Linked DNA regions of Homo sapiens: regions 2, 3, 4 and 5 are each linked to region 1. Evidence: promoter capture Hi-C in 16 types of primary human blood cells and fetal thymus (Javierre and others, 2016). All regions are on one chromosome and are shown on one strand. The core of a region is centred on a gene start or on the middle of the fragment in contact, and the rest is flanking DNA. Distances in the headings are between cores, read along the strand shown. Region 1 holds the start of SOCS2-AS1 (SOCS2 antisense RNA 1). Region 2 overlaps LOC102724960 (a long non-coding RNA gene). Region 3 overlaps CEP83 (centrosomal protein 83). Region 4 overlaps LOC124902986 (a long non-coding RNA gene). Region 5 has its middle 63 kb from the start of PLXNC1.

What was found. The method cuts DNA at HindIII sites, captures the fragments that hold promoters and counts their contacts. A CHiCAGO score of 5 or more calls a contact.
Region 2: a contact is called between a fragment that was not itself captured here and the fragment with the promoter of SOCS2-AS1 in region 1, in 3 of 17 cell types (M0 macrophages, M2 macrophages and M1 macrophages). The highest score is 7.1, in M0 macrophages.
Region 3: a fragment that was not itself captured here is called in contact with the fragment with the promoter of SOCS2-AS1 in region 1 in 5 of 17 cell types (fetal thymus, naive CD4 T cells, non-activated CD4 T cells and 2 more); the score reaches 8.4 in fetal thymus.
Region 4: a contact is called between a fragment that was not itself captured here and the fragment with the promoter of SOCS2-AS1 in region 1, in 15 of 17 cell types (fetal thymus, M2 macrophages, non-activated CD4 T cells and 12 more). The highest score is 13.8, in fetal thymus.
Region 5: a contact is called between a fragment that was not itself captured here and the fragment with the promoter of SOCS2-AS1 in region 1, in 15 of 17 cell types (M0 macrophages, megakaryocytes, non-activated CD4 T cells and 12 more). The highest score is 11.1, in M0 macrophages.

The regions. Positions count from the first base shown.
Region 1 is chr12:93,568,502-93,574,094 of GRCh38, forward strand. It overlaps SOCS2-AS1 (SOCS2 antisense RNA 1), which reads right to left and starts at 2,897. Exons shown (of 4, transcript NR_038263.1): 1 at 2,764-2,897. It overlaps SOCS2 (suppressor of cytokine signaling 2), which reads left to right and starts at 4,174. Exons shown (of 2, transcript NM_001270471.2): 1 at 4,174-4,535. The coding sequence starts at 4,397. RefSeq lists silencers at 1,941-1,990, 2,051-2,240, 2,611-2,890, 3,251-3,300, 3,311-3,620 and an enhancer at 4,838-4,977. The HindIII fragment of the contact is 2,692 bases long and covers 1,359-4,050 here.
Region 2 is chr12:94,528,620-94,534,212 of GRCh38, forward strand. All of the region lies in intron 2 of LOC102724960 (a long non-coding RNA gene), which reads left to right. Among named protein-coding and RNA genes, the nearest start is that of MIR5700, 30 kb to the right of the region's middle. The HindIII fragment of the contact is 1,575 bases long and covers 1,390-2,964 here.
Region 3 is chr12:94,454,050-94,459,642 of GRCh38, forward strand. It overlaps CEP83 (centrosomal protein 83), which reads right to left. Exons shown (of 17, transcript NM_016122.3): 1 at 5,508-5,593. Among named protein-coding and RNA genes, the nearest start is that of CEP83, 3.0 kb to the right of the region's middle. RefSeq lists a silencer at 1,746-1,895. The HindIII fragment of the contact is 573 bases long and covers 2,851-3,423 here.
Region 4 is chr12:94,118,354-94,123,946 of GRCh38, forward strand. The region is part of intron 1 of LOC124902986 (a long non-coding RNA gene); the gene reads left to right. Among named protein-coding and RNA genes, the nearest start is that of PLXNC1, 27 kb to the right of the region's middle. The HindIII fragment of the contact is 1,425 bases long and covers 2,436-3,860 here.
Region 5 is chr12:94,082,637-94,088,229 of GRCh38, forward strand. No RefSeq gene overlaps it. Among named protein-coding and RNA genes, the nearest start is that of PLXNC1, 63 kb to the right of the region's middle. The HindIII fragment of the contact is 2,693 bases long and covers 1,433-4,125 here.

The DNA.
Region 1 (5,593 bases), core at 1,647-4,146:
ACCTCCCGGGTTCAAGCGATTCTCCTGCCTCAGTCTCCCTAGTAGCTGGGATTACAGGCATGCACCACCACACCCGGCTAATTTTTGTATTTTTAGTAAAGACGGTGTTTCACCATGTTGGCCAGGCTGGTCTTGAACTCCTGACCTCAAGTGATCCACCCGCCTCAACCTCCCAAAGTGCTGGGATTACAGGCGTGAGCCACCGCGCCCGGCCAGGATTCTTTTAATCAAGTATGATGCAGCCATCAGGGTTGGAGCATTCTAGGAAGAGGGAACAGCATGCACCAAGGCAACAGGAAAGCACATAAAAAAGGAGTTGCTGGAAGATTCATTTCAACCCACTATCAAGTAAATATTAAACTTACTGTATAAAAATGTTAGGGCCAGGAGGGGTGGCTCACGCCTGTAAACCCGGCACTTTGAGAGGCCGAGGCAGGAGGATCGGTTGAACCCAGGAGTTCGAGACCAGCCTGACCAACAGGGCGAAACCCCGTCTCTACTAAAAATACAAAAACTAGCCGGGCGTGGTGGTGGGCGCCTGTAATCCCAGCTTCTCGGGAGGCTGAGGCAGGAGAATTGCTTGAACCTGGGAGGCGGAGGTTGCAGTGAGCTGAGATCACGCCCTGCACTCCAGCCTGGGCGACAGAGGGAGACTTGGTCATGCTCCCTCCCCGCCCTCCGTCAGTTTTAGGAATAAATACCTTTTTATTTAAGCTAAAGTGTGGGTACACCCTTCCTCTAGGATTCTCCATCAAGGAATAAGAAGCCATATTAGGACAATTTAGAGGGCAGTTAACCCTAGTAGACATAGTGGTTCTTAAAAGGCTTGGGGCCTCAGACTGTACACAGGCTTCACATGGAATCTGATTTGTTCCTTTATCCCAGTCCCTCACCCAGAACCCGAATCTAGCCCTTCATGTTATAAAAAGGGCCAGAGGTCCAAAGAGGGTAAGTGCCTTGTGCAAAATTATTCAACTACTTTGTAGAGGATTTTAACTAGGGTTCAGTTAGCTCCGCCCACACTATAAAAGGCTCTTTCTAAAAAACGAAACATGATTAAGGGCACACGGCTCCAGCGTTAACAAAGCTCTTTGTTAGCTGGGAAATGCCCCCCTCCCCGACTCATCTGCTTATCATCTGCATAGAATTATGTACTCAAAAGCAGGAAAATTATTGAGAAAACCATTGGTCCCCGGCTGCAGACCCCAAGGTTGGGAGCTGGTTCCCGTTTCCTCCCAGAGCCGGCAGGGGGGGCACCAGGCAAAGTTTGCAAGACGCGCCTCCCTCCCACCCCTCCCCCTTCCTCGCCCAACTTCCCATAGCCGCGGCCTCAACTAAAAGTGGCCATTGACCTTTCAAGCTTTCGAGCAGTGATGCAATAGAATAGTATTTCAAAGAAAAATGCTTATCGAAATTTTGGATCCGGTTTTCCCGTGATTGTTAAGGGTTTCTTTTAAAAAGTAGGTCACATTTCAAGTAGGTCATATTTCGGGGGCGGGTGCGCAGACAAGGAGATGAGTTTCCACTAAGGCCAGGGGGCCTCCAACGGGGTTGGAGGTGAGAATCCCAGGTAGGGTAGAGGTGCCGAGATCCTTCCGAATCCCAGCCCTGGGGCGTCAGCCCTGCAGGGAATGGCAGAGACACTCTCCGGACTGAGGGAACCGAGGCCAGTCACCAAGCCCCTTCCGGGCGCGCAGGTAAGGGCGCCCCCTTAGCAGCCGGCGCAGGTGACCCGGGCGGGCCGCCGGGTCTACCGGAGACGTTGGAGCAGAGGGGAGGAGGAAGGGAGGAGCCGGGTGGGTGCGGGTGACAAGGAGCCGGAGCGCCAGGGGGAGGGGACTAAGGACGGCCGGCGCCGCTTAAGGAGGCGCTGCTCTCCCGCTCGCTGCCTTCCAGGACCTGATCAAGGGGACCGCCTCCGGTCCCCGGCCGTGGGCACCGGGACGAGCACGGCGTCCCCACGCCATCGATGTGTCTTAGAGCCGGAGAGTCTGGTTTCCGAGGACCCACAGTCGCTCCTGCACGCCCACCCCCCGCAAAAGTGCGGCCAGGAGGGTCGCATCGAGGGGGCGCCGCCGGGATGTTTAGAGGAACCCACCCCCGTGGCAGGCCAAGGGCCAAGGATCGCTATCCTTCCCTGAACCCGGGCGCTCAGCTGGCCCGGGTAGGGGGCAGGCTCCGGCCGCCGAAACGGGGTTGGCTGTAGCCGGTGGCCGGGGAGATCTCTAGCTTGCGCCCGAGCACCCCGGGGTGTGGGGCCAGAGGCAGGCCGACCCCGGCGTGCACACCGCCCGCCCTGCACCCGAGCGCTCTCACCCGGTCTTCCCTGAAGCCTGTGTATTGCGACCGAGCCTCTTTAAAGCAGTAGCGGGGCCCGCGGTCACGTGAGGCCGATTCCTGGAAAGTTCCTGGAAAGCCGCCTCCGCAGCAGCCGGGCGGGGCGCGAGCGGAGCGCTGACTGGGGAGGGAGGCGGGGAGCAAGGGAGGCGCGTCGGTCTGGGAAGTCGCGCGCACTCGCTGCTCCTGGGACCGACGTTTAACTCTTGCCAAGTCTCGTCGCAGCCGCCGCGGCTGGCGGGCCTTGGGCTTCCCCTGAAGCATGAGCCCTCTCGCCCGCAGCCACCCTCACCGCGTGGCCCGCGGACAGTGCGCGCCGGGGTCCCGGGTGCACAGCCTCAGGATACCCCGTGCCCGCAGCTCGGGCGCCCGCGGCAGGTACCGGTAGTGGGGGAAGCCCGAAGGCTCCGCCCCGAGGAGAGTTACCGGGGAGGGCGGCGAGGCGCGGCCGCGTGCGCCGGGGAGCGGCGGACGGCCTGGGCTTCCGCAGCTCGGAGCGCCGGGGAAGAGAGAGTCCGAACCGCGGCTCTGCCCCGCGGCCTAGCGTTGCTGCCTGCTTTCTCCAGCCCCTTCTCGGCGTCTGGAAGTGTCTGGAGTTTCTTTTTTTTATTTCCCCTAAACTGCCATTCAAATTAATAATCCTCCTAATAACCTGATCTCCCGCTCCTCCCCACCGGCCTGCCTCCCGCCCTCGCTCCTTCCTCCCTCCCTCCCTCTCTCCTTCCCACCTCCAGGGTCGCAGCCGGAGGGAAACCCGGCAGCAGTCCGAGAGTGGAGGTGTCCCAGCCCGTAGGGGGCGTCGCCGCGCGGTGGGGGATGGGGTCGAGGCAATGATCCTCGAGGCTTTTGTGTGCCCTCTGCGCACGGAACTCCGACCGCCGCCTCCGAGCGCGGGGCTGGTTGCATCCCCGGGCATCTCGTTCCCAAATTAAACGTTAACGGGGGAAACAAGGGCAGACGCCCCTCCTCTCCCGGGCCCCTCCCACCTCCCCTTTTCCCCCCACCCCCCCGCCCCATGTCCGCTGAGGAGGCTGCCTGGTGCGGAGGCGGCGGCGGCGGCCGCGGCCGAGGTCGAGGTAAGAGCGCGGCGTTGGTGGTTTGCATTTTCCGCAGCGCTCGCGACCGCCCGCTCGGCCCCGGCCTCGCCTCGGAGCCCCGCGAGGGCTGCGCGCTCGGGCCGATTCCTCGACAGCGCCCGCGGCGGCGAGAACCACCGCAGCCATCCTGGTCCGGGAGCGACCGCCGCGGCACCCCCAACCCCGCCAGAGCGGGCACCAGGAAGCGGGGGGAGGGGAGCGAGGAGCCTCCCGGGCGGAGATGCGGCAGCTCCCGCACCTCCGCACCCCGGGTTGGTGCCTCGGGGCCCCGCAGCGCTTTAGGGCGGAGAACCAAGTTTGTGTGGGTGCTTCTTCCTGGGGGCCCTCGGGCTGCGCCAGGTGTGAGACCGGAATGCCAATTTGGGGAATCTCTCCTGTTCTTTCCTTTTTAATTTTTTCTACTTGTCCTTGACAAGGGCCTATTCCCACTGGATCTGCAGGTGACTATTTGCTCTTCCTAGGTCGCCAGTCTTTGATTTCAGCTAGTGACCCTGGGCGGGAAGACACCCTGTTCACCCTCCTCCTGACCTCCGCCCCCCACCTCTTCAGCCAACTTTATCTTGGATCTCTGCTCTCTTTATCTTTTCTCTAGAGCTGGGCCAGGGCGCTAACTGGAAGCTTGGGGTTAAATGGTGCAGGAACGTAGAGGCGGAGGAGTCCCTGGGATTTTCCACGTCTATTTCCCCACCCCCACCCCAGCCGCAGGGGTCCAGTTTGGACTGACCCAACCTCCCGCTTTCTCTTTGTAGGCGATCAGTGGGTGACCGCGGCTGCGAGGGACTTTGTCATCCGTCCTCCAGGATCTGGGGAGAAAGAGCCCCATCCCTTCTCTCTCTGCCACCATTTCGGACACCCCGCAGGGACTCGTTTTGGGATTCGCACTGACTTCAAGGAAGGACGCGAACCCTTCTCTGACCCCAGCTCGGGCGGCCACCTGTCTTTGCCGCGGTGACCCTTCTCTCATGACCCTGCGGTGCCTTGAGCCCTCCGGGAATGGCGGGGAAGGGACGCGGAGCCAGTGGGGGACCGCGGGGTCGGCGGAGGAGCCATCCCCGCAGGCGGCGCGTCTGGCGAAGGCCCTGCGGGAGCTCGGTCAGACAGGTAGGGAGCCGATCGGCCGCGACGCGTGCGGGAGGGAGCGCCTCCCCAAGGAAGCAGCTAGGAAGCGGGGTCGAGGTGGGAAGCAAAGAATAAGATGGAAATACGTCCCTTGCTTCCAAGGGACCGCGGAGAGCACGCTCGCAGGGTCCTGGGTCCTTGGGAATGCGTAAGGAAAGTGGTTCTCCAGGGACTCAGGCCTGGCGGAGCGCAGAGCGCGGGAAGAGCTTCTTGGAAATAGCTTCTTAGCACGCTGGAAGATTTACTGTTTTCCGCAGCTGCTCAGGGTTAGGCTCCCGGGCTCGAACCCCGGCCGGGGAAAGCGTCGGGCGCCTCCCTTTGCACGGGGTGCAATCAGCAAGTCGGTGCCGCGGGCCCCGCAGGCCCAGCAGCATCTGGCTCCCGGGCGGAGCTGCGGCTGCAGCCCAGGATCTTGGCGGCCAAGTTCAGGGACTGACACTGCCGCGAGGGCGGCTGCCCGGGCGTCGAGAGTAGGCTGCGAAGCCCCCGCCGAGCGCGGCTTCCATGGTCGGCGCGCCCAGGGTACTGCCGCTTTCAAGTACAGTCAGGCAATTCGCGCGGCACGCTGTCTCTAGGCATCTGAAAAAAGAAAAAAGAAAAAAAGTAAAGTATCTGGCAAATCATTCTGGCTTTCCAAATCCGTATCCTAAAAGCTTACAGTTGTGGCACAGTTGAAATTTTGGTAGCAACAGGGGGAGGGAGAGGGAAAAGTTCTCTCGCTTGCGATTCCGGTCTTTCCGTGTGGGCCACGGGCTTTCCCTCCCGGGGAGGCACCGGCAGATTGCAAGTATCCCGGTAATTGTGGGGGTGGGGGGAGCACAAATGTTCAGACTTCTTAAATACGGACGGTCTCTGAGCCTTCTTAGAAAGCAGAGTGGGCCGGGGAGATGGTGCAGGCAGATGAAATCAAGAATGCAGGGGAGATGGATGGTTGTGATTGGGTTTGGATTAGGGCAAAGTTCAAAAGAGTTTAGGGAAGATTGTAAACTTGAAGTAGTAATTATCACTTGGGAATTCCCATTTCTTAGTGACTGGTAAGG
Region 2 (5,593 bases), core at 927-3,426, 960 kb after region 1:
TCAGAGAGACCTTGCTACTGTGATTTTTTTCAATTTCCTTCAGCTTAAAAAATACTCAGTATGCCAAGGTGTCATATTTTGGGGTATTGTGTTTTGAGCCTCATCAGAAACGGGAATTTAAATGGCTGTTTTTCCACATGTAGTTAACCAATTATTCAAGCACTGTTTATGGAATACTTTGCCTTTTCTCATGAATTCGAGATATCATCTTCATCACAGAGTGAATTATGATTCATCCTTGGGTCTGTTCTGGACTCCTGCCTTTGTCCCATGGATGTGTCTATCTATGGGTTCTTGTACTGCCTAAATCTATAGTCAAGGAGTGGCAGGAACTCAGGGTTGAGGTGAGATTATCACCATTATGACTACAATTTAAGTTCGTTTGTATAGCCCTTCTGAAGCCCAGAGCTCAAGCTGAGTGCTGAAAGTTCAGGAGGGAGGCCAGGCGAGGTGGCTCACGCCTATAATCCCAGAAGTTTGGGAGGCCGAGGCGGGCAGATCACCTGAGCTAAGAGTCCCAGACTAGCCTGGGCAACACTACGAAACCCCATCTCCACCAAAAATACAAAAACATGGCTGGGCGTGGTGGCATGCACCTGTGGTCCCAGCTACTCAGGAGGCTGAGGTGGGAGGATCACTTGAGCCTGGGAGGCAGAGGTTGCAGTGAGCTGAGATCACACCACTGCACTCCTGCCTGGGTGACAGAGTGAGACCTCATCTCAAAAAAAAGGAAGGAAGGAAGGAAGGAAGGAAGGAAGGCAGGCAGGCAGGCAGGCAGACATGGTCGAGGTAGAGGTGGAGAGTGGGGGTGAGGAGAGGTGTCAGAGGTTGGGAGTCGGTATTGATCCAGACGTCTCAGGGGGCAGAAGTCTCTGAGCAGAGGAAGGGCACTTAAGATGAATATTCTAACCCAATACTTGTGTGGGAGCAGAAGAACGAACTACAATTACAAATTTGATGAAAAGAGAAACTCTTGGCTTTCCCCACCATTATCTGAGGTACCCAAGACACTTCTGCAAGACTGAAGTCCCAAAGAACCATGTGATCATCCCACACACATAGGAACTAACTGTGCAGTGTAAAAAGGCAGGCTTGTAGTCTTTCACCCGTGGCAGAACATATATTTATTGATTCACCTTTGAGTAACAGGTTTAGTAAAGATTGTCAATTCTCTGGGAAGATAAACATGAAGTAATTTTTTTACCCCAATAAAATCAATCAATTATGCTCTGTGGAACCTCTCTTTCCCACTGGGTAGCAGGCTCCATTAGCTACATATATCCCAGTCTGATTCTACAACTTTTCATTTTAGTTATCACAACAGTTTCTCTCCAGTTATTAAGATTCAACTCTGTTCAATGTAAAATTTCATTCTTATATTGGATTCAAAGCTTTCCTCCTCGCCTCTAGTGCAGACTAGACTCATGGCTTTAAAAGATTTGGGAGTGGCGGGGTGGAGACATGGTCTACTTCTCTCCCACCCGATTCTTGCCTGTGCTTTCCCCTGTAGCTTTGGGGGAAAAGGAAGAAAAGAGAAAGTTGAATATGTTCTTTTGTGATTGCCTATGGCAGAATTGTTGGTCTCCATGGCTTAGCAAGTGGTCCCCAAGACTTGCCCTGGCACTAAATGCCCAAGCAGCTCCCAGGGGTCCCTTGGGACATGTGGCCTTCCTCTTCCAGCTGACCCCAGCTGATGGCCTCGTGCAACATCTCTCCAATGCCTACTTCTCTTTGCCCAACACGTGACCATCCTCTGCCAAGTCCCCAGCTCCAAAACCTGAGCCTGTGGGCAGACTGATACATTCTTTGTACCTTTTAGCAACCAGGAGCTTGAGAGAATAATTCTACTCATACCTCACATCATCCCATTACATTTCCATTTTATAGAAACTTCCTTCTGACCCCAGTGCCAGCTTCCTATAGATCTCAGAGCTGTCGATGGCCCCTGACTCCACATACTAGTGTGGGCTCTTGATGATCCAAATGTCCCCAACATAGAAGTCATATTATATGTACTCCGGCCAGTTGAGTTATGAAGCATTTGTCTCACCCTAAGATCTTAAGATTCAATCGAGATATGAAGTCACCTCTCTAAGGCCACCCACCAAATCAGCACCATGTTCAAATTAGAATGTAAAGTGTCAGAATCTATGAGCAGGTTTTTTTCCATTGGGCTAGGATTGCTTAGGCTTCTAGGAAAACAGGAGCTAAGTCCCTGGGCTTTGGGGTCAGATGGCTCTGTCTGAGGCCTGGTTGAACCACTTCCTAGCTGGGTAAATGTTGTTGTTGCTGTTGTTGTTGTGTGAGAGAGAGAGTCTCACTCTGTTGCCCAGGCTGGAGTGTAGTGGCTCGATCTCAGCTCACTGCAACCACTGCCTCGCAGGTTCAAGCGATTCTCCTGCCTCAGCCTCCCGAATAGCTGGGATTATAGGTATGCACCACCATACCCAGCTAATTTTTGTATTTTTAGTAGAGACAGGGTTTCACCATGTTGCCTAGGCTGATCTCGAACTCCTGGCCTCAAGTGATCTGCCTGCCTCAGCCTCTCAAAGTGCTGGGATTACAGGTGTGAGCCACTATGCCCAGCTCACCTAGCTGGGTAATTTTGAACAACTTTCTTAGCCCCTCATAGTTTCAGTTTCCTCAACTGTAAAATATGGATAATAATAATAGCATCTACTTTACAGAATCGTTTTATTGCCTAGATGAGATTCTACAAGGGAAGCCCCAGTGTCTGGTGCCTAAGGAGTTCTCATGAATGGTAGTTATTGTTCTAAAAAAGAGAGCATCCTCAGGCTACTGATAATTCAAATCTGTCCAAATGTCGCTGCCTCGCAGATGGTTGAATTGTGTGTCGTTGGGGTTAATTCCCAAGCAACGTACCCAGTGTGCTCTGTTGCCTCCACCTCTGTGGGGACTGTCCCACTCAGGGGCTGGGACGGCATGGGGGCAGATGTGAGGAGAAGCTTCTACAGCTACTGTGTGTGCATAATCACATTAATTTGCAAAAAATTAAAAATAAAATAGAAAATAAATTGGCTGGGTGCAGTGGCTCACACCTATAATCCCAATGCTTGGGAGGCTGGGGCCAGAAAGTTGCTTGATCCAAGGAGTTCAAGACCAGCCTGGGAAACATAGTGAGACCCTGTCTCTACCAAAAAAAAAAAAAAAAAGAAAAAAAATTAGCCAAGTGTGGTGGTGTGCACCTGTAGTCCTCGTTACTGGGGAGGCTGAGGTGGGAGCCTGCAGTGAGTTATGATCGTGCCACTGCACTCCTGCCTGGGCAACAGAGCAAGACCCTGTCTCAAAAATAATAATAATAAGGCTGAGCACAGTGGCTCACACCTGTAATCTCAGCACTTTGGGAGGCCAAGGGGGGTGGATCACCTGAGGTCAGGAGTTGGAGACAAGCCTGGCCAACATGATAAAACCCTGTCTCTACTAAAAATACAAAAATGAGCAAGGTGAGGTGGTGTGCTCCTGTAGTCCCAGCTACTGGGGAGGCTGAGGCAGGAGAATCGTTTGAACCCAGGAGGCAGAGGTTGCAGTGAGCCGAGTTTGCGCCACTGCACTCCACCCAGCCTGGGCAACAGAGTGAGACTCCCTCTCAAAAAAATAAATAAATAAGGCCAGGTGCAGTGGCTCACGCCTGTAATCCCAGCACTTTGGGAGGCCGAGGCAGGTGGATCACAAGGTCAGGAGATCGAGACCATCCTGGCTAACACGGTGAAACCCGGTTCTACTAAAAATACAAAAAATTAGCTGGGCGTGGTGGCAGGCGCCTGTAGTCCCAGCTACTCAGGAGGCTGAGGCAGGAGAATGGCGTGAACCCGGGAGGCGAAGCTTGCAGTGAGTCAAGATCGTGCCACTGCACTCCAGCCTGGGCGACAGAGCGAGACTCCACCTCAAAAAAATAAATAAATAAATAAATAAATAAATAAGAATAATAAAGAAAAAAAGAAAAAACAAGTGAACTTTTTTTTAATGTTTTCCAGCTGCAGAGGCCATGTACTAGAAAACTCTTGAAATATTATTCAGTGTTTCTCAATACTTAAGCTGACTGCCTTCTGACAAATTGCCAAGTAGTGGTCAGAATTTAATTCACACCAAAAGAGAACACAAAGATTATGAGACAATTGACCCTATAAAAATGCATTCGTGGCATGCTCTTTAGTCACTTTGCATCTGCTCTCAACCCACCCTCCAGGGCTCTTATGTCACACTTATTTCCAGATAAATGGCCCAATTAGAAACCTATTGGCTAAGGTTGTACTAAAGGCAATGACCCTGCACACCAGAATCTCGTCCTTCTTAACATCACCCTTAAGCCAAAGCACAGTGGCGTGTGCATTCTCATTCCTGGACAAACTCTGCCCCCTGGCGCTGACTCACACACTTGCGCACCGGCGAGGAGGGTCTCCTTTGTTAGGTTTCCTCATGGGACAGGGATAGAAGAGCCTGTCACCCCCACCTGCCGTCTCCCCAAACCCCTAATTGCCATCAGTCTGCTCCACACAGATAATCCACCAAAAGGCTCCGAGTTTGTTTCTGCTCCGTGTATTTGAAATGAGTCTACCACATCAATCTCATTCTGTGTTAAAAAGTGTTTCTCAGCAGATGAGTAGGGATAAAATCTCCATGGGAGAAAGTGAAGGAGATGCCTGATCTGTCCAGGGCTTCCCGGGTCAGTGGCGCTTCGGCCAGAAGCCAGGCAGCAGGCCTTGGGCAGGTGGCTGGACCCCTTCTGTGCCACGGTATCTTTGTCTGTGAGATGAGGGGGGCAGTCCCCACCATACTGTGTTTACACAATAGAGGGAGAATTTAGGTGGTGACTGTGCTGTAGTAAAAAGAACAGAGGGTGTGGAAATAGGGGATTTGGGTCTAAACTCTGGCTCCAGGCCAGATGCAGTGGCTCACACTATAATCCCAGCACTTTGGGAGGCTGAGGCAGGAGGATCGCTTGAGCCCAGGAGTTTGAGACCAGCCTGGACAACACAGTGAGACCTCATCTCTACAAAAAATACAAAATTAGGTGGGCGTGGTGGTGCCTGCCTGTAGTCCCAGCGACTCAGGAGGCTGAGGTGGGAGGATCACTTGAGCCTGGGAGGCAGAAGTTGTGGTGAGCCATGATCGTGCCACTGCCCTCCAGCCTGGGTGACAGACTCCCTCTCAAAATAAATACATAAGTAAGTACAATAAATAAATTAATTAATTAATTAATTTCAGCTCTAGCTGTGGAACCTTGGACTAGAAATTCACTGTTCTCACTGTTCTCTAGAAATTCACCATTCCCTTGAGTTTCCTATCTTATAAAATGGGATAGTGACTTGCCCTGCTAGTCACTTTCTCGAGAAGAGACACCTCCAACTGCAGCGGGTGTGGCGCAGCCTTTCCCTCCAGGCTCCAGGAGCCCCTGCCTCCCAATCGGAAGGAGAGTTGTTTCAGATGAATATTCCTAGGTTTTAGCCCAGGAGGTTGAGTCAGAATCCTGCCTCAGAGGCGTGGCAGGAGAAACAAAATAATGAACCCCCAAAGGTGTCCATGTCCCGGTTCCCAGAACCTGCAAATATGTGACCTTGCATGGGAAAAGGGC
Region 3 (5,593 bases), core at 1,887-4,386, 890 kb after region 1:
TCACACCACTGCACTCTAGCCTGCTGACAGAGTAAGACTATGTCTCAAAAAAAAAAAAAAAAATTAGAGTACCTATTAAATTGTGCTTAGTGATCTCAGCTTTCTATGAAGCTCTAGAAGTAATACAAAAATGTTATAAAGAACCATTTCAACTTCATCCACTCCAGCTCTGGCTGGCTATATCAGTTGTAGAGAAGTCTGTTATTACATAATACTTTTTCTGCCCAGAATAATCTTTAATTGAACCAGTATTTTCACGTGTCCTTCACACAAAAAATAATTCAATACATACTTATTGAGACATGAAGCCAGCTGGGATTCTGGGTCCGGTGTGGACTTGGAGAACTTTTCTGTCTAGCTAAAGGATTGCAAATGCACCAATCAGCGCTCTGTGTCTAACTAAAGGTTTGTAAACGCACCAATCAGCACTCTGTAAAAACGGACCAATCAGCACTCTGTAAAATGGACCAATCAGCTCTCTGTAAAATGGACCAATTAGCAGGATGTGGGTGGGGCCAAATAAGGGAAGAAGAGCTAGGCACCTGAGCCAGCAGCAGCAACCCACACGGGTCCCCTTCCATGCCGTGGAAGCTCTGTTCTTTTGCTCTTCGCAATAAATCTTGCTGCTGCTCACTCTTTGGGTCCACACTGCCTTTATGAGCTGTAACACTCACCACGAAGGTCCGCAGCTTCACTCCTGAAGCCAGCGAGACCACGAACCCACCGGGAGGAATGAACAATGCCGGACGCGCCACCTTTAAGAGCTGTAACACTCACTGCGAAAGTCTGCAGCTTCACTCCTGAAGCCAGCAATACCACGAACCCACCGGGAGGAATGAACAACTCCGGACGCGCCACCTTTAAGAGCTGTAGCACTCACTGCAAAAGTCTGCAGCCTCACTCCTGAAGTCAGCAAGACCATGAACCCACCAGAAGGAAGAAACTCCGGACACATCTGAACATCTGAAGGAACAAACTCCGGACACACCATCTTTAAGAACTGCAACATTCACCACGAGGGTCCGCAGCTTCATTCTTGAAGTCAGCGAGACCAAGAACCCACCAGAATGAACCAATTCCGGACACATTATCATGCATCTCTATGTGGAAAACAATGTGAAAGAAGTTATAATTCATCAGTACTCTAAAAAATATCCTTAAGAGCATATATTGCATGCCCCTTAAGTTTAACAATATCTGAAATAGCTGCCTTAAAACAAAATGCAATCACACTTGAGAGAGGCTGAATATGAACATCAGAGATAGGCAATGCAACTTCATCAGGAAAATCCCTATAGTCCAATGCTACTGTTTTCAAGGGTTGCTATATTATACTGCAATTGTGTTACTGGGCAACAACTCAGAAGCTAGAATGGCAAATTCACTCAAGAAGTAACTGAATCAAACGAATATTTATGAAAGCATTCTGAGACTCAACTTCACTTTCTATATCTTCAACTGAAGTAACTCTTTGTTATAAGCATTAGATACAGGATTTTTGGTGAGACTGTAAAAACTACATGGACATTTTATAGACATATTTTGAGACAGAAGATAGGTGCTTTCCAAAAGGGAATGGCCAGGTTTAGGTTCCTACTAACTCTGAATTTTAATCCAAAAGCAATCTGAAGTCACAATATACAGAAGGCAAATAACTGGGCATTTCCTTAATTTCTTCCATCCTGGATTATAGCTCAGTTAAAAGAAATAGTAGGCCGGGCGCATTGGCTCACACCTACAATCCCAGCACTTTGGGAGGCCAAGGTGGGTGAATCACTTGAGGCCAGGAGTTCCGAGACCAGCCTGGCCAATGTGGTGAAACCCTGTCTCTATTCAAAATACAAAAAAAAAGCCAGGTGTGGTGGCATGCACCTGTTAGCCCCAGCCACTTGGGAGGCTGAGGCAGGAGAATCACGTGAACCCACGAGTTCAAGGTTGCAGTGAACAAAGATTGCACCACTACGCTCCAGCCTGGGCGACAGAGCAAAACTCCATCTCAAAAAAAAAAAAAAGAAAAAAGAAATAGTACTAGACTTGACAGTCAGTGATCTCTCCATGACCTAGAGAGGGCAGTCCTGATGAAAAAAATATAATTAATAAACTGATATTCTACTAGGAACCAGGAAATTGACCAAACTCCCCAAGCCCACTGAAGAATAGTGCCAGCATTCCTGAGAGTCCTTACTGCTGGTATTGCCATGGGAAATTCTCAAATACTCACTTTCTAGGAACAGAATCTTTATTTCTGATTCCGTGAATTCCCACTCTTCAATCTTTTTTATAGTTTACTGTTGCCATTTCCCCTTCACTTACTCTCTTCTCTCAACAACCTTACTTTCATGATACTTACAAAAGTGGGGGAAAGTAGAAATGCCTATCTGTCATTGTATTAGTCCATTTTCATATTGCTATAAAGAACTGCCTGAGATTGGGTAATTTATAAAGGAAAGAGGTTTAATTGATTCACAGTTCCACATGGCTGGAGAGGCGTCAGAAAACTTACAATCATGGCAGAAGGTGAAGGGGAAGCAAGGCACCTTCTTCACAAGGTAGCAGGAAGGAGAATGAATGCAGGAGGAACTACCAAACACTTATAAAACCACCAGATCTCATGAGAACTCACTGTCACGAGGAACAGTATGGGGGAAACCGCCGCCATGATCCAATTCCCTCCACCTGGTCTCTTCCCTGACACATGGGGATTATGGGGATTATAATTCAAGGTGAGATTTGGGTGGGGACACAAAGCCTAATCATATCAGTCATCTTTAAGAAACATTTATTCAGCAACTTGTATTTGGAAAAGACTAAGGATACAGCTCATCGAGATCTGAAGTCCTGCCCTTAATAAGCTTACAATCTAGTTAGGAAGTCAAGAAAGCTAAAATAATACAATAAAAAGTATAAGTATCAAATAAATTTAACTCACAAATACATACTATTCCTATGTATGTATGTATGAGGTCATGGTGGAGTTGAACCTTATAGAAAAGGTACAATTTAGATTTTAAGAAAGAAGGGAATAAGATCAGGTCACGGGGGATAGAAAGATATGCAGACTAATATGGAAAGGATAAAGTACAGAGCAGGTTTAGGGGATAGTGAAGAAACCAATCTGGGCAGAGACACCTTTTCCATAAAGAACATACACTTGAAAAGGCAAGGTGAGAGGATTTCAAATAATTCACCTTAAGTCAAGAAACATGAACTTGGGTTAAAAGGAAGTTTTTTACACAGATTTACACACATTCCCTAAAAGCACATAGGTTAAACAATGTGGGCAATTTACTTATGGAACCTAATATGTATGACAAAATTAAAAGCAAGCTCATCTACTTTTAGGCAAAGAGACAGTACCTGGGGGTGGGGAAATTCTGACAATTCACTAAAATTCACTAATCTTTCTGTTAAGATTTCACTCTAAGCTTCTTGAATTAGAACATCCCATGACATAATGCTGATTTCTGATTACTAAGGATTATACGAGTCATTCTTGATTTGTCTCCTCCATCTTGCCCAACTTTTGAATATTTCATTACTTCAACATCAGCATATAGAAAAAAGGAGGAGAGAACTAAAATTAAGTCCATGGATTTTAGCAATACATAAGGGTATCTGACATAAAGAACATTAAACTTCAAGTTCCAATTCCCATTATTAATAGATTTCAAAGAAGTCATTTAGTCTCATCATGTCTCAAATTTTCTCACATACTTGCTTACTTGAAAGGTTATTGATTGAAAAGATCATTCAAAAAGTGCTCTAAAAACTAACAACTTGCCATAAAAATTTTATCATTAAGGGTTCAATAAGAGGAGACAGTGAGGTGACTGGTAAACCAAGGATTAAAAACTACCTGTGAATAGGCCAGGCACGCTGGCTCACACCTGTAATCCCAGCACTTTGGGAGGTCAAGGTGGGCAGATCGCCTGAAGTCAGGAGTTCGTGACCAGCCTGGGCAATATGGTGAAACCCCATCTCTACTAAAAATACAAAAATTAGCAGGGCATGGTGGCATGCACCTGTAACCCCAGCTACTCGGGAGGCTGAGAGGAGAGAATCACTTGAAACTGGGAGGCGGAAGTTGCAGTGAGCTGAGATCCCACCACTGCACTCCAGCCTGAGCGACAAGAATGAAACTCTGTCTCAAAAAAAGAAAAAAAAAAAAACTACCTGTGAATAATCAGTGTTTCATTCTCCCAGTGCTGCATGGAATTCTAAATTGTATTTCACTATTATTTGAGAATGTTCTAAATACAGTCCGCGCACTTCATCTGATCTGGAAAGAAAACACTCAAAGTAAGGGGAATACCCAGCATACTCTGTCCTAAATAACCAAAGGACAACTCAAAACCATTTGCAACTCTCAGGAGAGTCCTGTGTGACACTTATAATTTAAAGCATTCTGGCCTGGTGCGGTGGCTCACACCTGTAATCCCAGCACTTTGGGAGGCCGAGGTGGGCGGATCACCTGAGGTCGGGAGTTTGAGACCAGCCTGGCCAACATGGTGAAACCCCATCTCTACTAAAATAAAAAAATTAGCCGGGCATGGTGGCACGCACCTGTAATCCCAGCTACTCGGGAGGCTGAGGCAGGAGAATCGCTTGAACCCAGGAGGCGGAGGTTGCAGTGAGCCGAGATCGCGCTACTGCACTCCAGCCTGGGCGACAGAGTGAGACTCAGTCATAAATAAATAAATAAAGCATTCTAACAATTCTGAACAAACTGAGTTTGAAATCAAACCTCAATACAAAAGGTGAGTATTAATTCTAACCACTTACAGGCTAAATTCATAAATATGGAAAATTCTAAATCCAGGTAACTGTAGGATAGATACCTTTAATTGTGTTTTAGTTAAATGTCAGACTTGTTTACAGACATGTTGCTTGGTAACAGAAGCACTGCTTTAACAACCCACTCTGTTTTAGAGCTGCTTAAAGTCTGAACAGATTATGAAGTATATATCATATACACGAAATTCAGACAAGTCTTTCCTTATCCTAGAGATCTGTAAGATTTGAAAGAGCTTCCTCATTTCAGCTAACTAAAGGCTTTACAAATACTTAGCAGTGGATATTCTTAAGAGCAAAATGCCCATTGATTATGGTCAAAAGTTGGACACTGAGGATTAACCAAAGTATTTAAACCCAGCATATGCTAACATATTTTAGGTGTTTATCTCAGTAATGACAGTCGACATCACTGTTCATTCAAATTGTCTTCAAAGCCAAGGAAAATGGTAGCATAGCTTTTTCATCGTAAATTAAGCTGGAGGTACTTAAACGTCTGGCCAATTACCAAACTGGCTACACAACCACCAAGCCAGAGTGCATCCAAAAGCTCCATGAAGAGTTTCACGTGCGTCTCTCTGCCTACTTTTCTAGCACGAGCTTCCACTACTTTAACAGGAAAATAAAAAAAGGATTCAAGGGCAGTTTGTGGAGGGACAAAATGAGTATTCCAAAATACAAACAAGACACCGTCCCCAGAAAGAGAGGTTACATACCAGACGCACGCACGCTCCTTGCAACCCGCACACGGAAAACTTAAGTGACCGCAGTTCTGGCCGCGCTCGCCACCGGGGACACCTCC
Region 4 (5,593 bases), core at 1,898-4,397, 550 kb after region 1:
GAGATAACCCTCATCCCTCATGTTCTCTACTGCCTGCTGTTACCCTCCAAAAAGAACCTACGTGTAGTGCATGACCAAAGTGACCCATGTCAATTCCCAAGAAGGGGTGGGACTCCAGGCGCCAGGGCCCTGCCCATTTCTGGCCTTTGATTCTCTGGTGATTCTCTTCCCACCCAGCCCTAATGGGCAGGACCTGCAAGGCTCACAGATGTGACAGTAGCTGGCAGAGGTTGGCTGGCATCCTTAGAGAGCTGATATGTGAAGGGAAGCTCTCAATGGTCTTAATTTGGTTTTGAAATATTTTCCATTTGACCCTGGCTATTCCCAAGGTCCGGGGAAGGTCCTCACTAACCTAAGTGCCACCAGAAAGTCCTGTCCAGGGCTCCCATAGTCCAGCTTTACACAGAGAGGGACTCCCACCACTGCCTCTTGGTTCACCTCCTACTGAATCAGAGAGAGGGGTTGGGGCTGGGAGAAGTGGCAGGCTGGGAAGAAGAGTGAAACAGCCTAGCTGGCCCAGCCTCCAGGTGCACTGGCATTAGAACACTGAGAACAGACTGAAATCTGGATACATTGTGGGAAAAAATCAGCCTGTCCACCCTTAATAAGGCCTGGAGCAGTGCTGCCCAAAACAGCTTTCTAGCACCGGCAACCATGGTAGCCACTAGTCACAGGCAGCCAGTGAGCATTCAAAATGTGACTGGTAGGAAGCAGGAGATGAATTTCAAATTGCATTTCATTTTAATTTATTTACATTAAATAGCCACATGAGACTAATGGTTACTGTAGTGGACAGCACAGGCCTAGAGCCTGGCTTTTCTCCCTATTCTCTCAGGACCTTCTCTTAATTCTCAAATAGTCCGTTCTATGGCCAGCCCCCTCTTTTTCTTTCTTCCTTTTTCCTCCCTCCCTCCCTCCCTCCCTTCCTTCCTTTCCTTCCTTCCTGGTCTCATTCCGTCAACCAGGCTGGAGTACAGTGGCATGATCATAGTTCATTGCAGCCGCAGCCTGCTGAGCTCAGGTGATCTTCCCACCTCAGCCACCTGAGTAGCTAGGACTATAAGTGCATGCCACTATGCCAAGCTAATATTTTTTTAAGGGGGTGTTAAATTATTATTTATTTATTTTATTATTTTTTAAATTTTACAATTTTAATTGTTGTGGGTACATAGTAGGTGTATATATTTGTGGGGTACATAAGATGTTTTGATACAGGCATGCAATGGGAAATAAGCACATCATGCAGAAGGGGGTATCCATCCCCTCAATCATTTATTCTTTGAGTTACAAACAATCCAATTACACTCTTTACGGTGTTTTTTTTTTTTTCTTTTTGAGACAGGGTCTCACTATGGCACCCAGGCTGGAATGCAGTGGTATGATCACAGCTTATTGCAGCCTCGACCTCCCAGGTTCAAGTGATCCTCCCAGCCCAGCCTCCCAAGTAGCTGGGACCACAGGCATGCACCATCATGCCCGGCTAATTTTTTTATGATTTGTGGGGATCTCACTATGTTGCCCAGGCTGGTCTCAAACTCCTAGGCTCAAGTGAGCTGCCCACCTCCGACCTCCCAAAGTGCTAAGATTACAGGCATGAACCACCACATCTGGCCTCCAATATCTTGTTTTGACCTTAGATCCCTCTCCTTTCTTCAACTCTCTGGAATATTCTGGCTTGGGTGGTTCAAAAGAAGGAAACCAATGCTTCCCAAATGTTTCCCCATTAGAGATGGATAAAGTGTCAGGCTACCAGAAAATAGGGTCTTTAATGGCACATGGGAGTCATAGAATGCACATGCCCCATTTGGAACTAATACATCCAATGGTGCTATTCAAAGTAATCATAATAATGTGCTATACTCTGCTTGTATATGTGTATGGATACATCATCACAATGCATCCTGCATGTAAAGTGACCGGAACAACAATTAGGCTTCTCATTTTAAAAATTAGAAAACCAAAGTCAGCTTAGCTAAGAGAATCACATTGCAGATAATGATAGAGCTGGGACCAGCACCAGGTGTTCTGACTCCTAACTTCTCTTGGAATATTTGAGTCAGCCCTGATTAGAGAAGAAACATGACAGAAGAAGAGAGCAGACCATAATCACCCCCAATAGACTGGCCATGTCTCCAACAAGGCTCTTTTCTTTCAGGCCTGCAGGGAGTCATTTTGTACACAGTGCACAGCATATTATTTCCTAGCATTGTGGAAGCTGGAATGTGTTAGGGAATTTAAGCAGTATCTGTCTTCCAGAGCTCTAATGGGCCATCCTGATCGTTCTTGCATTCTAACTGTATTTGTAGGGATCTTATCAACGAATTTCCTTCTCATAGGATCTCTGCTCTTTGCACAATTCAGAGGTGTCTTCTTATTTAATACAATATACAACACCATGGTATTACTCTAATGGATGTTCTAAACTGAACAAGCCAAGCTTTTTTTTCCTTATGCTTCAGTTAAATTTGTTTTCATATCATTTTTCTGGATCCTCTGATTAAGCATGTCAGATTTTTTTAATTTTATTATTTTTCTGGATCCTCTGATTTTTTTATTTTATTATTTTTCTGGATCCTCCAATTATTTATTATTTTTCTGGATCCTCCGATTTATTTATTTATTTATTTATTATTTTTCTGGATCCTCCAATTAAGCACGTGTCAGACTAAGGGGTCCAAATTTTGGCTGTATATCTGAATTCATGGCACTTTATTTTAATGTAATTAAATTAATTAATTTTGAGACAGGGTCTCACTCTGTCGCCCAGCCTGGAGTGCAGTGGTTCACTGCAACTTCCACCTCCTGGGTTCAAGCAGTCCTCCCACCTCAGCCTCTTGAGTAGCTGGGACTACAGGCGTGGACCACCATGCCCACCCTTTTTTTTTTTTTTTTTTTCCTTGGTGGAGACAGGGTTTCATCATCTTGCCCAGGCTGGTGTCGAACTCCTGGGCTCAAGTGATCCTCCTGCCTCAGCCTCCCAAAGTGCTGGTCTCATAGGCATGAGCCACCACGCCTAGCCCTCATGGCACTTTAAAGAAAATACACATTCCAGGCTGGGTGCGGTGGCTCACGCCTGTAATCCCAGCACTTTGGGAGGCCCAGGCAGGTGATCACTTGAGGTTAGGAGTTACAGACCAGCCTGGCCAACATGGTGAAACCCCGTCTCTACTAAAAATACAAAAACTAGCCAGTTGTGGTGGTGGGCACCTGTAATCTCAGCTACTTGGGAGGCTAAGGTAGGAGAATTGCTTGAACCTGGGAAGTGGAGGTTGCAATGAATCAAGATCACGCCACTGCACTCCAGCCTGGGCGACAAGAGTGAGACTCCATCTCAAAAAAAAAAAGAAAGAAAGAAAAATACACATTCCAGGTTCTATCTCTTGAGGAGCTGGGATTGAGCCTGGGCATCCACATTTTTCAAAGTTCCCCCACATGATCTCAGTGCTAAAAACTGAGACTCATGGAATGTTGGACCAAAGAATCAAGAGACCCATATTCTGGTTCCTGACTTTCCTACACACTGGCCTCTCTGAGCCTGTTTCCCATTCTGTAAAATGGAGAGATAGGAGCCCTGTCCTACTTTTGTGAGTTTAAAGCATAAGAACTTGTGTGAAAGAATTTTGACAAGGAACTTTTGTATTTATGGTGGGAGGGATCTGGTGACCAGCAGTCAGACACCACCTGCAAACAGGCCTGCGATCTGGTCACTTGGTGACATTTCCACTGGGTTCTCGTGGTCTGCTTGCCTCCATCACACTATGCTAAAAATGGGTAGAGAGTGGGTGGAGCTCAGAATACTTTAACTCCAGTGTAATAGTGTGGGCAGCTTCCACTTAGTTAGGTACTTCTGGACAAATGGAAGCTTGTCTGCATGCAGCTATATTTATTTCCAAAATAACTGGTGAGATACCCCCACGAATTTGAGAACATTCATTTCTGTTTTACCTGTTTTGAGACCTTTAGACCATGAGATTAGAACGCCCCAGGCATGATCAGGAGGCAGAAGTACACAGGTCGTCTATTCCCAACCTCAGAGCTGATGCTCAGGGTAAATCCACAGCCATTCGATGTAGGGACGTTTTAATTTGGGAAATCAAATGCAGGAAAGATATTACCTTACTGTTCATTTCAAGCATCTCACACACACCATTAAATGCCCCAAACTAGGCTACTATTGAACCTTAACCACATACAAATTACGTATTTACCCAAATACTCTAACATGCTAACAATCCTTTCTTTTGAAACTTCCTGGTTTAACCGATCTGACAAACAGATCCTTCATTTCTGTTCGCTCTATTTTATTCATTCAGTGTATCACAAGTTGACCATAGCAAGACGAGAAATGCATTAAGGATCATGATTTTGCAAAGCATTAATAAGGATACTGGGACAAGGAAGTTAAGCTTTTGATGGCCTTGATACAACTATTTCAAACTTCTCTATTTCAAACTGACTTCTGCACAAGGGCACCACATCTAAAGGACCATCATTGATAGTAAACACAGTTAGTTTGTATATTTATTATGATAGTTTTCTGGCAGATGATAGTCATGTGTCTTATTCTAATAAATCAGCCCATGACAACAATTTTCCAACAGAAGTAAGCCAAGTGTCTTGAAGAAGGGGTGGGAGTGTGCCTTTTGTAATTCACACACAGGGGCAGTTTGGGCTACATGCAACCCAGAAAGGATTGTTAGCATGTTGGGGTATTTGGGTAAATATGTCATTTGTATGTGGTTAAGGTTCAATAGTAGCCTGGTTTGGGGCATTTAATGGTGTGTGTGAGATGCTTGAAATGAACAGTAAGGTAATATCTTTCCTGCATTTGATTTCCCAAATTAAAATGTCCCTACATCAAATGGCTGTGGATTTACCCTGTCCACTGATCTCTTCCCTGGTCATCCCTGATCTGGGGACAAGTCTTCTGTCAAAAAGGGGCTGAGTGAGCAGCAGCTGGGCTTTCCCTCTCCGCCCTCTCCAGAGCAGGCTCCTTGTGGTCTGCCAGCCACAACATAAAAGTGGAAGTAGTAGTCTGGCTTCTTCTTGGTCAGTTTAAGGTGAGGAGTTTTGTGGGGTTTTTTTGTTTTTTGTTTTTTGTTTTTTGTTTTTTTTGAGTTTTTTTTTTTTTTTTGGAGGTGGAGTCTCACTCTGTCGCCCAGGCTGGAGTGCAGTGGCGCGATCTCGGCTCACTGCATCCTCCACCTCCCGGGTTCAAGCGATTCTCATGCCTCAGCCTCAGGAGTAGCTGGGATTACAGACACCTACCTCCACACCTGGCTAATTTTTATATTTTTAGTAGAGATGTGATTTCACCATGTTGGCCAGGCTGGTCTCGAACTTCTGACCTCAAGTGATCCACCCGCCTCGGCCTCCCAAAGTGCTGGGATTACAGGCATGAGCCACCACGCCCAGCCAGAGCTATTTTTTTTTCTACATTACACTTTGAAAACAAAAAACTTCCCCTCCCCTTTCTCTCTGTCTTCCTTCCCTGAGCTCTGTTTGTGTTGTCCCTACTAATCCCAGGACATCCCCTGTGGAGCTGGAGCTCTTTCTTCATTTTTTCCTTTTCTCCACTTCAGGTCTTAACTTT
Region 5 (5,593 bases), core at 1,529-4,028, 510 kb after region 1:
TGTTTTGTTTCTCCAGTGATGTTATTTTTAGAATTTAATCCAGTTACTAAGATGTTTCACATTGGGAGACTTCACATTAAAATTTTGGCTTCCCTTTAAAAATCTCAGGATTAGGCATCCTAAGCCCACTGATATGGTTTGGCTCTGTGTCACTACCCAAATCTCATCTCAAACTGGAATCCCCATGTGTTGAGGGAGGGAGGTGCTTGGATGAAGGGGGCGGCTTCCGCCATGCTGTTCTCATGGTAGTGAGTGAGTTCTCGTGAGATCTGATGGTTTTTAAAGTGGCAGTTTTTTCCTGCACTTGCACTTCTCCCTCCTGCCGCCATGTGAAGAAGCTGCCTGCTTCCCCTTCACTTTCTGCCATGATTGTAAGTTTCCTGAGGCCTCCCCTGCCATGTGGAACTGTGAGTCAATGAAACGTTTTTCTTTTATAAATTACCAGTCTCAGGAATTTCTTTATAGGAGTGTGAAAATGGGCTAATACACCCCCACTGCTGTTTGGCAGGAACTGACCAAAGCTGAGCAATGATCACTTCCAAGTAAAGCCATAAGAGCATTCGAGTTTGCCACAGTCTCCACCACTCCCTATTTTATCACATGTAATCTGATATAGTTTAGATGTCCCGTCCAAATCTCATGTTGGAGGTGGGGCCCACGTTGGAGGTGGGGCCTGGTGGTAGGTGTTTGAGTGTTTGGGTCATGGGGGCACATCCCTCATGGCTTGGTGCTGTCCTCACAATAGTGAGTTCTTGTGAGATCTGGTTATGCAAGTGTGTGGCACCTCCCTATCACTCCCTCTTTTGCTCTTGCTATGTGATGTGTCTGCTCCCACTTTGCCCTCTGCCATGATTGAAAGCCACCTGAGGCCACCCCAGAAGCTGTGCAGATGCCAGCACCATACTTCCTGTACAGTCTGCAGAACCATAAGTCAATTAAACCTCTTTTCTTTATCAATTACCCAATCTCAGGTATTTCTTTATATCGATGCCAAAACAGCCCAACACATAATCTTTGCCATAGTCCCTACTACTTCCTGTTTTATTACAGCCAGTCTGCTGGACTCACTTAAGTTACTGTCTGGTTCCCAGAGGCATTTGAATTTGACTACCCCTGTTTTAAAGAAGTATTACAGAGCATATAGTTGATTTATCAGTCTGCAGCTATCAGATTGATCCTGTTCACAAATAGTTCTAAAGAAGAAAATCCATAGTATTTTGCAAGCCATTCAAACACTAAACCTTTCTCTTCTATCCAGAAAATTTTCCCCTCACTATAAATAGGCCAATAAGAGCAATGTAGGCTTAGAACTAAATGGCATCTTATAGCTCATCTGGTCCAACCACCTTATATAACATTTGAGAAAACTACAGGCCTAGATTGTGAAGATGCCCAATAGCTAACAGGGACGAGAACCAGCTTCCCACTGGAAAGCTTCCTGGAACTTCTCATTCTTTCCAAATTAGGCATAGAAAATAGCTGCTTATTTTACTTTGTGAAAGCATTTTAGGCTTGGACTCAAGGGCAGGAAGTGTTTTTTTCTCTTGTTTTAGATTCTCAGGAAACTTATTTTCCTAACCTTAATTACCATGAAGATTATCTGTTGAACCCTCTATTCATTTCCTGGGGCTTCCATAACCAAGTACTACAAACCAGTTAACTTAAAACGATGGAAATTCATTCTCTCACAGTTCTGAGGGCTAGAATTCTGAAATCAAGGGGTCAGCAAGGCCATGCTCCCTTCCAAGTCTCTCAGGGAGGACCCTACTTTGTCTCCCCCTGGTTTCTGCTGGCTCCTAGCCACCTTTGGCATTCCTCAATTTGTAGTTGCATCACTCCAATCTCTGCCTTTATCTTCACATAGTCTTCTTCCTTGTGGCTCCACGTTTCTGTATCCTACTCTCTGTCTCTTATAAAGACATCAGTTGGCCAGGTGCAGTGGCTCATGCCTGTAATCCCAGCACGATGGGAGGTTGAGGCAGGTGGATCACCTGAGGTCAGGAGTTCGATACGAGCCTAGCCAACATGGTGAAACCCTGTCTCTACTAAAAATACAAAAATTAGCCAGGCATGGTAGCAAGCGCCTGTAATCCCAGCTACTTGGGAGGCTGAGGCAGGAGAATTGCTTGAACCCAGGAGGTGGATGTTGCAGTGAGCTGAGATTGCACCATTGCACTCCAGCCTGGGGGACAAGAGTGAGACTTTGTCTCAAAAAAAAAAAAAAGACGTTAGTCATTGGGTTTAGGGTCCACCCTGACCCAGTATGACCTCTGAGATGCTGAGATGGTTAATTTTATATGTCAAACTTGCCTGGGCTTACGGATGCCCAGATAACTGGTAAAATACGATTCTGTGTGTGTCTGTGAGGGTGTTTCCAGAAGGGACTAACATTTGCATTGGTGAACTGAATAAAGCAGATGGCCCTCCCCAACGTGGGTGGGCATGATCCAGCAGAACAAATTGGGGAGGAAAGGTAAATCCACTCTCCTGATTGGGCTGAGACATCCATCTTCTGCCCTAAGACATTGGCCCTTCTGGTTCTTGGGCTTTCAGATTTGGACTGAAACTTTATTAGTCCATTCTCATCTTGCTATAAAGACCTAAGACGGGGTAATTTATAAAGAAAGGAGGCTTAATTGACTGACAGTTCCACAAGCTATACAGGAAGCATAGCTGGGGAAGCCTCAGAAAACTTACAATCATGGCAGAAGGGGAAAGGGAAGCAGGCACGTCTTACACGGCCAGAGAAGGAGGAAGAGAGCAAAGCGGGAGGTGCTACACACTTTTAAACAACCAGATTGCGTGAGAATTCACTCACTATCTTGAGAACAGCAAGTGGAGAGTGTGCCTCCATCATTCAATCACCTCACACCAGGCCCTTCCTCCAACACTGGGAATTACAATTCAACATGAGATTTGGGTGGGGACACAGCCAAACCACATCAGGGACTGGCACCATTGCCCTTCATTCTCAGGTCTTCAGCTTTGGGCTGAATTACACCACCAACTTCCCTGGTTCTCTAACTTGCAGATCATGGGACTCCTTGGCCTCCATAACTGCATGAGCCAATTCCTATACTAAATCTCTTCATATATGCACGTATATATATACAGCTGGCCGTCTATGTCCATGGATTCTGCATCCATGGATTCAACCAACCACAGATCAAAAATATTTGAGAAAAAAATGCATCTGTACTGAACATGTATAGACTTTTGTTTCCTGTCCTTATTCCCTAAATAAAACAACTATTTATGTAGCATTTACATTGTATTAGGTATTATAAGTAATCCAAAGATGATTTAAAGTATACAGGAGGATGTGCATAGGGAAGATGGCAAATACTATGCCATTTTATATCAGGGACTTGAGCAACTGCAGATTTTGGTATCCAAGGGAGATCCTGGAACCAATCCCACACAGATACCAAGAGATGACTATATATATAGAATTGGTTCTGTTTCTCTAGTTTTTTGTTCCACTACACACAGATGAGTAATTGGAAAGGGAAGAGTATATTAACAGCCTTTTCAGATCATGGTGAAGATTCTGCTGTAGATTATACCAAAACTTGACAAGTTGTAGTTTCTTAAAGGAAAATTGCCAGCTGGGCACGGTGGCTCACACCTGTAATCCCAGCACTTTGGGAGGCCAAGGTGGGCAGATTACCTGAGGTCAGGAGTTTGAGACTAGCCTGACCAACATGGAGAAACCCCATCTCTACTAAAAATACAAAATTAGCTGGGTGTGGTGGCACATGGCTGTAATCCCAGCTACTCAGGAGGCTGAGGCAGGAGAATTGCTTGGAACCAGGAGGCGGATGTTGTGGTGAGCTGAGATTGTGCCATTGCACTCCAGCCTGGGCAACAAGAGGGAAACTCCCTCTCCAAAAAAAAAAAAAAAAAAAAAAAAAAGGTAAATTGCCATATGAAATCTGAAAACATCAATGAATGTTTCATACTCAATTACTTTTTCAAATTTTGTAACATTATGCACTGGTCATTTGGAAAATATTGTTTTAATGAGTTGTGCAGACCTTCCAGATGTTGACACATTTCAATATATAATATAAAAATATCACCTTCCAAAATATCACCACCAATTTCATTCTAATTTCCTTTGAAAGCTTGAATTTTATCATTGGCATCAAATATTATCTTCCTTGACACGATTAACTCATATTGTCATATTGTTTTCCTTCACTGGAAAAACTCATTTCATTTTCTGAGACCATTTCTATCAAATACCCAAACTTGAATAACTATAATTTGTCTGTCAGTTTTTATTTCAAGCAAAAATAATGTTCTGTGAAAAAAAACCAAACAGCTAATTTAGCTGGCAACTCAAACAATCGCATAAGTGCTTTTCTGCAAGACAACCATCATAGCCTATGCAGGAGAAATGCTTTATGTGGGCCAGGCGTGGTGGCTCACGCCTGTAATCCCAGCACTTTGGGAGGCCGAGGTGGGCGGATCATAAGGTCAGGAGATCGAGACCATCCTGGCCAACATGGTGAAACCCTGTCTCTACTAAAAATACAAAAATTAGCTGGGCATGGTGGTGCACACCTGTAGTCCCAGCTACTTGGGAGGCTGATGCAGGAGAATCGCCTGAACCTGGGAGGTGGAGGTCACAGTGAGCCAAGATCGCACCACTACACTCCAGCCTGGGTGACAGAGTGAGACTCCATCTCAAAAAAAAAAAAACAGAAAGAAAGAAAGAAATGCTTTATGTGTACTTTCCAAATCAAGGGTTGAGATGTAACAAAATTAACTTTTACTGCACCAAGGGCATCTCAGTAAAATGCTTTCTTGTATTCTGTGGTTGTGAGGAATACAGTGACTACAGTTTGGTGTCAGGATTTGTGCTGAGCCACCAGCAGTTTTTCCCGCCATCGCTTTTCCAACATCAGTGCAAATGACTATGCAGTAAAAAAGGCAAATAATATCTTGAAATAATTATATATGTATATTTCATTAGATATAGATATTCCCCACTGAATATATAAAATTTTGAAAATAACTTTGACCTTGAAAACTTATGAAAGTGTCTCAGGGACCCCTAGGTATCTTTACACTTGGAGAACTACTACTCCAGATGAACAGAAAGATAGGACAATGACTATCTGAAATTTAGCTCCTTTCTTTGGGAAGCAGGCTCTGCTAGCCAGGAAGAAGGAAGCAAAGAATAGCTATTTGTTAGCAAAGACTTGGAACCAACCCAAATGTCCAACAACGATAGACTGGATTAAGAAAATGTGGCACATATACACCATGGAATACTATGCAGCCATAAAAAATGATGAGTTCATGTCCTTTGTAGGGACATGGATGAAGCTGGAAACCATCATTCTCAGCAAACTATCGCAAGGACAAAAAACCAAACACCGCATGTTCTCACTCATAGGTGGGAATTGAACAATGAGAACACATGGACACAGGAAGGGGAACATCACACACTGGGGACTGTTGTGGGGTGGGGGGAGAGGGGAGGGATAGCATTAGGAGATATACCTAATGCTAAATGATGAGTTAATGGGTGCAGCACACCAACATGGCACATGTATACACATGTAACAAACCTGCAAGTTGT